2 separate regions of the Homo sapiens genome follow, and region 1 is linked to region 2. The links are contacts of gene promoters, found by promoter capture Hi-C in blood cells and fetal thymus (Javierre and others, 2016). All regions are on one chromosome and are shown on one strand. The core of a region is centred on a gene start or on the middle of the fragment in contact, and the rest is flanking DNA. Distances in the headings are between cores, read along the strand shown.

Region 1 (4,933 bases), core at 680-3,179, 770 kb before region 2:
TATAAATTATGTCCCAAGGCTGATGTCCAGATGGTATTTCCTAGGTTTCCTTTTAAGATTTTATAGTTTGAGGCCTTACAATTAAATCTTTAATCCACCTTGCATTAATTTTTGTATATGGTGGAAGATAAGGGTCCAGTTTGATTCTTCCGCATATTGCTAGCCAGCTATCCCAGCACTATTTATTAAATAGGGAGTCATTTCTTCATTGCTTATTTTTGTCTACTTTGTTGAAGATCAGATGGTTGTAGGTGTGCAGCTTTATTTTGGGGTACCCTATCACTTTCTTTTTTCTCACTTGTAGGGCACCATTCTAGGTACTAGGCCTATGGTACAACAATGTTACATTTAAAAAATATTAAAGGCACATTTAAATTTAATTTTAGCATCAGTGAAAGAGATATTTTACGCACACAGTAGTGAAAAAAGTTGTCAGAATCTCTGCTTAATATTCAAAGCAAATAATGCTTTTCTGAATGAATAAATGCTTCTTTAAAAGGTAACACTGTGGGCTGGGCATAGTGGCTGATGCCTGTAATCCCAGCATTTTGGGAGGCCGAAGTGGGTGGATCAATTGAGGTCAGGAGTTTGAGACCAGCCTAGTCAACATGGTGAAACCCCATCTCTACTAAAAATATAAAAATTAGCCAGGTGTGGTGGAGCATGCCTGTAATCCCATCTTCTTGGGAGGCTGAGGTACGAGAATCACTTGAACCTGGGAGGTGGAGGTTGCAGTGAGCTGAGAGGGCACCACTGCACTTCAGCCTGAGTGACAGAGTGAGACTGTCTAAAAATAAATAAATAAATAAAAATAAAATTGTCGTGCTTAAAATGTAATATAGATACACATTTCAGATTGTTTAAGTATATCCTCCCCCATCCTAGGAGAAAAGATTTGTCTAAAAAGAGACTGGATATTAATTTCATTTCATTGTAACTGACAATTTTGTATTTATATTTTATAGATGCCAGACTCTTGCTGTTGATATTAGTATGAACATCAACATTAGGCTATAATAATAAGCTATCAAAGGTTCAGTGCAAGGTGTGTCTAGTTAAAAATTAGGAACAAGCTTAATAAAAACTTGTAAACTAATCTCAGTCCTTACTTCTCATTTGCTTTGGATTGAAGAAAGTGTGTGGAGTGTGAGTGTGTGCACGCATGTGTTTTTCAATGTCCCCAAACAGCACTATTTATCCAGCTGTCTACTTCCTTAAGGACAGATCTCCATCCCCACTCCCCATCCCAACCCCTGGCCCCATAGCAAGACTTATTTATCCTTAGTTACCAACTAGCTTATTAAAACTAATACTAGGCTGGGTGTGGTGGCTCACACCTGTAATCCCAGCACTTTGGGAGGCCAAGGCAGGTGGATCACCTGAGGTCAGGAATTCAAGACCAGCCTGACCAACATGGAGAAACCCTGTCTCTACTAAAAATACAAAATTAACCGGGCGTGGTGGCGCATGCCTATAATCCCAGCTACTCAGGAGGTTGAGGCAGGATAATCGCTTGAACCCAGGAGGCAGAGGTTGTGGTGAGCCAAGATTGTGCCATTGCACTCCAGCCTGGGCAACAAGAGTGAAACTCCATCTCAAAACAAACAAACAAACAAACAAAGAAACAAACAACAAACAAACACCAAAAAACTAATACTACACTAGTCACTGGGGCTTCTTCCATTAATATATGTGGGTGTTTCTCTCTGTGTGTGTGTGTGTGTGTGGTGGTGTTGGGGGTTGGGGGAGAGAAAGAGAGACAGAGAGAGAGACAGACAGACAGACAGAGAGACAGAGAGAACTTGCTTAGACCTGCTTTTTGCATCATCCAGCATTTAGTTTCCCTGCTTCCTCAGCTAGGCTATGTTCACTTTTTCTAGTCAATCATGAGAAGTATGTGACTCCTTGTGTGAATTGCATGAGTGGCCCCAATTCTACACCCTTCCCAGTACCCATGTCCTTTGTTGTGTCATTTTGTGGTGCTTTTCCCCTGTGTATGGGGTATATGGTCCAGCCATGACTTACTTTGGCTGATGGGATGTTAGCAAATGTGACATAGCAGAGACTCCAGAAGTCCTTGTGCTGCTGGGCTTGACTATTCTGTGCCGTGTCATCACCTGGAAGACATTCTAGTCTGCTAGTTCCAGGAAGAAAATGAGAGACATGTGGGGCAAAGCCACCCCCAGACAAATCTAGCCTAGATGTTCTAATCCCTAGACTTGTGAGGAATAATAAATAATTATCTCTTTAAGCCACTGAATATTGGGGTGGTTTGTATACAGAAATAGTCAATGGACCCACTTCCTTCTTCCTCCTCATGCAGACCCCGGATCCTCCCCTTCTCTACTCCTTAGATGAACCGCACTCTGCCCCCTAGCACCTGGTGACAAAAAGTGAGAACTTCTGTAGCACTAGGAAAATAGAAGAGAAAACAAGGGGAAAAAATGAGAGTAAAGGAGAGAAGACTATGCTGATGCCATCTGAGAGATTCCTATGGGAAAGATGGAAAAATTAACCATCACCATGCTCCTCCTGTTCCTTAATCAGTTCTCTCATATCCTTTCTTTTTCCCAACCCTTATTTCCTACTCTCAATGCTTTCTGTTCCCACTATTGATCTGCATCATGAGGCCAGGGTTCTTTCGCAATTATTGCTAACATTTATTGAATACTAATTATATATTAAGCACTGAGCTAAGTGCCGTACTTGGATTATGTGTTTTAAACCTCACTATGGCACTGTAAGATGGACAACATGGTCTATATTTTACACACGAAGAAGCTTAAGAGTCATCAAATGATTTGCTCAGGATCCACAGCTAGTAAGCAGTGAAGCTAAGGCTCTAATCCAGGCAGGCTGACAACAAAGCCTGTGCTCTTCCCCCTATACCACACTGTCCTTTCTTGTTGAATCCTCTTCATCCTCTCTTCCACTGCCATTCTTCTCCCCTTCCATAGGCAACCATTAACGTATATATTTTTATGTGAATATTTTTTGCACAGTGAAGATGGTTGTTTGGTACACATTGTTTCTAATTTATCTAAGTGATAATTATTTCTTATTTTATTCTGTTTCTTTTTTTTATTAAGCATTCTGTTTTTAAGATCCATACACTTCGCTATGTGTTCATTTAATTTGTTGCCTCTTACCTGCTACCTAGTACTCCATGGTTTCTACTCATCCCAAATTCTTTATCCACCCCTCCATAGTGAACAACCAGATTTCCTCCAACTCCCCACCACAAGTAATGCTCTAGTGAATATCCTCATACATGGTCCCTTAAGGCCCAAGTGAGAAATTTCCTGGGTGTAAATCCAGGAGCAGAATTGGCATGTCACAGGGAATGTTTATCTGTTGGACTAAATTGCTCCTCATAATGGTCTGCACTCCCACTGGCAGCACGTGAAGGCAAATCTATGCCTATGATCCTGTCTAAATTCTGCCAGCCTGAAAGGTGCAAACCGATAACTCACTGTTTTAACTTGCATTTACCTAATTACCAATTATTTGGGCATTTCTTTACATGCTGGCTCTGTTTTTGAGTTTCCTTTTCTAAAAATTACCTATTCATAATCTGCTCATTTTGTAATTGAGCTTTTTTTTTTCTTATTGATTCAGAGGAATCCTTTGCTTATTCTAGATACATTGGCTAGAAACATTCCAAATAGCTTCTCCCAATCTATCATCTGGTCTTTGTGTTTGCTGTCTCTCATGAACAGAAGTCCTATTTTGATGTTTTCAATTAATATATATTTTTGCCTTATTGTTTGTGCCTTTTAAGTTTTGTTTAAAAGAGGCCCCTGACCTCTATTCTCAAATATTGAATATTGAAAAAAAATTCTCAAATATTTTCAAAACATTTTTGTCCATTATCTTTATGGGTTTACATTTCTATTATTTCCCCTTTAAATATGACTGTTAAAATAACCTTATAATATTATGAGTGAAATAAGCTTTAAAGAGTAGGTCCAAGAACTTGATCACTGTATACATCAATTGTTTCTGTGAAAAGCCTGTGATCTGAGTTCCAAGACATCAATTTAGAAGTGGACTTTTGGAATAGAGCCTGTTTATGCATTCAAGGTTGCCAGGATATTTATGAAAGGAACTCTAAAGTTCTATTATAGTGGTCTGGCCATTGTTGTTGGCCTCAGTATCGTTACATTATAATCATAGTGTTAATGTGATTATAAATCACCAGGGGCAGTGTTGCTTAAAGTGTGGTCCTCAAATTAATTGCATTGCATTTACTTAAATGTGCTTGTTAAAAATAAAGATTTCATTTGTCAAAACCCATAGAATGTACAACACAAAGAGTGACCCCTAATATTTGGTTGATAATAATGTGTCAATATCAGTTCATCAGTTGTAATAACTGGACCACACTGATGTAAGATATTGATGGTAGAGAGGCTGTGAGCTGGTGGAGAAGGGAGTATGTGGGAACTCTCTTTACTTTGCTCAGTTTTGCTGTACACCTAAACTGCTCTGGTGCCCAACGTGGAGGCTTTTCTCTAGGGTGAAGGTACACTCGAGCGTGGTCATTGAGGACAAGTCGACGAGAGATCCCGAGTACGTCTACAGTCAGCCTTACGGTAAGCTTGTGCGCTCGGAAGAAGCTAGGGTGATAATGGGGCAAACTAAAAGTAAAATTAAAAGTAAATATGCCTCTTATCTCAGCTTTATTAAAATTCTTTTAAAAAGAGGGGGAGTTAAAGTATCTACAAAAAATCTAATCAAGCTATTTCAAATAATAGAACAATTTTGCCCATGGTTTCCAGAACAAGGAACTTTAGATCTAAAAGATTGGAAAAGAATTGGTAAGGAACTAAAACAAGCAGGTAGGAAGGGTAATATCATTCCACTTACAGTATGGAATGATTGGGCCATTATTAAAGCAGCTTTAGAACCATTTCAAACAGAAGAAGATAGC
Region 2 (4,932 bases), core at 1,188-3,687:
GGGGAAGATTGAAAAATAAACTTGGTCACATAAATTGAATGTTAAGAAAGCCATGTCGAGAGATACGAGAAAGAATATTTCTCTGAGAGTGCACTACACAATGGAAAGAAGGGGACTTCCTGGGAATTGAGGACCTTATATGAATTAAATTCCAATCATGTCCTGGACCAAGTGTCAGCGCTTACTAAAGACAGTTTATTTAAGCAGCGACCTTGGCATCAAGCATGGCCAGACTTGATCCCAAGCTCCTTTAACTTCTATGAATCTCAACTTTCTTCTCTTTAAAAATGAAGATAATTATACCTACTTTGCAGGCTAATATAAGGATTAAATGAGGTATTCTGACACTGGATGAAGAATAATTATTCCCCCATCCCTCTAACAACACCAACATGCATTCTTTAGAGGCGATTTGCAGTGGTTAGTGTGTCAAAATCAGACTGCCTGGGTTCAAGTCACAGCACTCACTAGCTGTGTGACCTTGGACAAGTTACTTAACCTCCCTGTGCTGTTTCATCATAGTAAAATGAAGCTATCAATGGTACTTTTCCCACAGTATTGTTATGAGGAATAAGGGAGTTAGTATGTATAGTACTTAGGACGGTGCTCAGTGCATAGTAACTAAACATTTTAAAAGTGTAAGCCAAAAACATTAAATAGTTTTGGATTCTTTCTACAAGTGATTAATTTTGTCTTTGGCTATATTCACATGACTGGACAGGAAGGCAGTAACAGCCTTGTTAGCTGTGGGCGAGTATCTCCTAATTCTGTTTGGGGCAACACCACCTGCTCCAGCTAGGGCTGTCGACTGTGGCAGGGCAGTGCAGGACAAGAGCCTCTGAGGCCAGCCAGTCTGCCCTGCATCCAGCCTTTGTCACTGACTTTGGGCAAGTTATCAACATTTCTGAGTGCCTCCTCCCTTGTGAAATAGGGATATTTTTTGCCTCTCCAGTTGGTGTTAGGATTAAAAAGCTAAAGTACGTCTAGCCCCACAGCCTGCACCCCGCAGAGCTACAGTGTAGCAATTGTTACCACATCATATATATATATATGCACATACATATATGTATACACTGTATATTATTTATATGGCAGTTAAGCCTCTGGGGATTTTGAAGTAAGGGAAACAAGAAGCCAGCTAGAAATGGGCCCTTTCTACCTGTCATTCGGTCTCAGTAAGAGGAAGAAAAACAATTTCTTCCTTTTGCAACGAAGTGATTACAGAGGTCTCCCCTTGGACCCTGATTTTCACCGCCCCTCGCCCCACAAATGCAGGCAAAGGCACTATCCCTTCCAATTTTATAATCTACTCATTTCTGTACGTGCGGGTTTATCTGGCTTGGTGGCAAGCCAAGGGTGGGTGGGGAGAGGCATTAAAACCTGGCAACCCCGCTCCCCCATCTCCGGATGCCGCAGGGCTCCTGCCAGCCGTCCTCGGTTAAAAACGTGCTTATGGATTATTTCACTTCCCTGCAGTTCATGTGCAGCCGCTCATTACCACCCGCTTCAATCACCGCTGCCAGCATCTCCCCTGAACGTTTTTCCCTCCCCCGATTTCAGGGCCATTGGTCATAACCGACATTTAAAGGAAATAAACACTGATTTAAAAAATTACAACACCCATCTCTGCCTGAAGAGCCCAGAAGCAATGAATAACAGAACAGTCCGGCGAAGAGAGCCTGTCGGATCTTAGCTCCGCCAGCCCTTCCTGCCTTACAATTCCCCACAACCGAGCAGCACAAATCACCATTTCCAGGCACCACTCGAGTCTGCCAATTCCACTTTCGCTTAATCTCATTTTAAAATCCTCTACAGATGAGGCTCTGTCGCTGCCGCGAGGGGCCGGGCGGCCGCGGCGGGAGGGACAGGGGGCCTGGGTGGGAAGGGAGCGCGAGGGCCCCTAGCGGTTCGCGGCCTCGGGCGGATTCCCAGAACGAGTGCGGGCCGCCCGGACTGGCAGACTGCGAGCCCCGAGGGGCGCGGGACGCAGCCGGCTCAGACAAAGAAACCGGCGCCAGCGGCCGTCCCTGCCGCCCCTCTCCTTCCCTCACGCATCCTCCCAGGAAAAACAGGGCACACTGACGGCCAAAGGGGCTGGCCTTCCCCTTCAGACAGCTGGACGGGAGGTGCCCTCTGCGGGGCTTTGACGTCCCTCGCAGAAGAGTCGCGGGCTCAGCGGTCCTCGACAGCGTCCCCGTCCCGCTCCCCGGCGGGCGCCCCTCCCTGTCCTCCCGGGTGCGAACCGGGCGCTGGCCGGGGACTCCGGGGACGCGTGCGCCCCTCGCCGCGCGAGGTGCCGCCGAGCCAGCCCGAGAGGGCGGGGGGCGGGCGGGGCGGCGCGCGGGGGCGGGGGAGCGGCCGGGACACGTGTGGCGGCGGCGGGGGGGACGCGGCGCCCGGGGCTTTAAGAAGGTGTGGAGCGGGGCGGGCGCTTTCCCAGGCCTGGCCGAGGGGCGTCGCGCAGAGGCGGCGGCGGCGCACGGAGGCGGCAGACGACGCGCTCTCGGCGCCCGCAGCCCCGGTCCCGCGCTCCCGCGGCCCAAAGTAACTTTGGGAGCCGCCGTCTCCCGCGGAACTTCTCGGCGGGGGCCCGCTCCCAGGCCCGCTCCCGAGCCCGTTCCGCTCCCGTCCGCCTTCTTCTCGCCTTCTCTCCGCGTGGCTCCTCCGTCCCGGCGTCTCCAAAACTGAATGAGCGAGCGGCGCGTAGGGCGCGCGGCGGCGGCGGCGGCGGCGGCGGCATGGAGCGCAGTGGCTGGGCCCGGCAGACTTTCCTCCTAGCGCTGTTGCTGGGGGCGACGCTGAGGGCGCGCGCGGCGGCTGGCTATTACCCCCGCTTTTCGCCCTTCTTTTTCCTGTGCACCCACCACGGGGAGCTGGAAGGGGATGGGGAGCAGGGCGAGGTGCTCATTTCCCTGCATATTGCGGGCAACCCCACCTACTACGTTCCGGGACAAGAATACCATGGTAGGTACCGCAGCACCTCCGCGCTCGCCGCCGCCGGGTGCGCCCGCCAGCGCACCTTTCTCATCCCTTTCCTTCTTCCAAGGGGCCTTGGAAACAAGAACCATGACAACCCTGGCCCCAGCGATGCGCTTGGTCCAGGGAGCGAGAATAAAGTTAGTGGAGAATGGAGTCACAAGTTGGGATTCATTCTCCATGTCCCCACTCCCCGAACGCATCTCCTGGTAATGAGCTGGTGCTTGTGCTAAACGCCTGAGAATTCTTGGAGGCCGGTGTCTTTCCCCCTCACTCCCCGTACTTACCGCAGGCACTTTAAATTGAACCTGCGCATTTTGTTTCTTTACTCCTAGGACTTGGATTTCAGACCTTTGTCCTGCTCCCGGTCCCCCCAGATGGGTCCCCGGGGGGGCGTTGGGGGCTGTCGCTGGGCTTTGCGGGCAGGCTGGTGACAGATTGAAGCGCCCAGGTCTGTGGCTGCCCCGCGCCGCTCGACCGCAAAGTTCCCGCTGCTCACCAGCCAGGAGTCCCTGGCATTTCATTCAGTGTCATACAGCCCTCCTGAAAGGGAGCGGCTGCTTCCAGCTCCCTATTCTTTTGAAAGTGTGATTTAATATGTCAGTAATTGATGATTTTTCTGATTCCTGCCTTACTTTTACATGGTGCTTCTTGTTAGAATTATCTTTGTGATGTTTATTAATGACTTTGTATTTTATCTGCACAGCTTTAATTTCCAGGTAGAGGCTGGAATCCCTTATAATTTAGAGGTATCTTAAAAATGGAATCATTATGCAGCCCTGCATCAAAAATAAACATTACAGAAGAAATAAAATTTAGCTCCAAGAAATATAATATTATGTAGTACATGTATTTTAAGCTAGTACATCGAGTATGTGGAAAAATAAAAAATGTCTCTTTTCTGTATTTCTTCTGGGACTTCTGAACATTTCATGCCTATAGAGCTTTTAAGCAGCGACAGGCACTATTTAATTAGAATTTCAACCCCAAAATATTTATACCCAACCAAATAGAAACCATTGTCCAGTAGGCTCCTGTTAATAGTTTCTATCTCTAATAGGCTAACAATCATTGGCATGGCGGGAGATAATCTACGGGGTGCTAGCACTTAAGATAGACAAGCATTTAAAAATTGTAAGAATCCTTAAGATTTTTCTGTTTTTAAAAAAACCTTGATATCTATTATAAAATATTTAGCCTAAATAAACGTCTCCTAGAGGTTTTAAACAGTGCTTTTACAACTTCCTTGTGGCATGGTGGCAGCCTTGTCTGTAAAGCAGAAGTTTAATTTGGTGGAATTTTAGAAATAATTTTGGAAAATTAATGTTCTGTAACTAGTCCCTTTTTAGATAAAAGTGCTTACTACGCCCTCTTCCCAAGAACAATCTAGTGCTTTTCTGAGATAATGAGAATCTTTAAGTGGAAGGAGCAGCTACTGTGATGGCAACCAGACCTAACCCAAAGCCTGATTGACAGCCTGCTGCTCCGTGCGACTCTTAGCAAAAGTTCTTGCCCGGTATGATCTCTCAGTGAGAACGGTGGGTAAGTGAGTGAGGCTGGTCTCAAAGGCGTGACTGTCAGGTTATGATGGAAGACCATGTGATGATACAAAGCTTTATTATTATTTTTTCTGTTTTCCACATCCTTTGGAAGGTCTCGATATTGAAAACTTAACTAAAAACACCAAAATATCATACACCCTTTGGTTTTGCTCCCTTGCACCCTTGAATAGCAAATGCAAGTCACCTTAAGACTCACCATAATCACATATCTAAGTCTGAAAAGGAATGGATAACATAGAGTAGAAATAAAGTGTAAATACTTCAAGTTGGACATTGCGGAGGAGAATCTCAATTTCCACCTCTTTTCCACCACCAGAAAAGGTAGAGAAATTGTATTATGTAAGTTATGAAAGGTCAAATTATTATAAGCTTTGAGAATTGTGTCAGATTTTAA

Evidence for each region. The method cuts DNA at HindIII sites, captures the fragments that hold promoters and counts their contacts. A CHiCAGO score of 5 or more calls a contact.
Region 1: a contact is called between a fragment that was not itself captured here and the fragment with the promoter of RELN in region 2, in 1 of 17 cell types (total CD8 T cells). The highest score is 5.7, in total CD8 T cells.

What each region holds. Positions count from the first base shown.
Region 1 is chr7:104,752,377-104,757,309 of GRCh38, reverse strand. All of the region lies in intron 2 of LHFPL3 (LHFPL tetraspan subfamily member 3), which reads right to left. Among named protein-coding and RNA genes, the nearest start is that of LHFPL3-AS1, 49 kb to the left of the region's middle. The HindIII fragment of the contact is 1,708 bases long and covers 1,076-2,783 here.
Region 2 is chr7:103,987,163-103,992,094 of GRCh38, reverse strand. It overlaps RELN (reelin), which reads left to right and starts at 2,437. Exons shown (of 65, transcript NM_005045.4): 1 at 2,437-2,964. The coding sequence starts at 2,739. The HindIII fragment of the contact is 6,896 bases long and covers 1-4,591 here.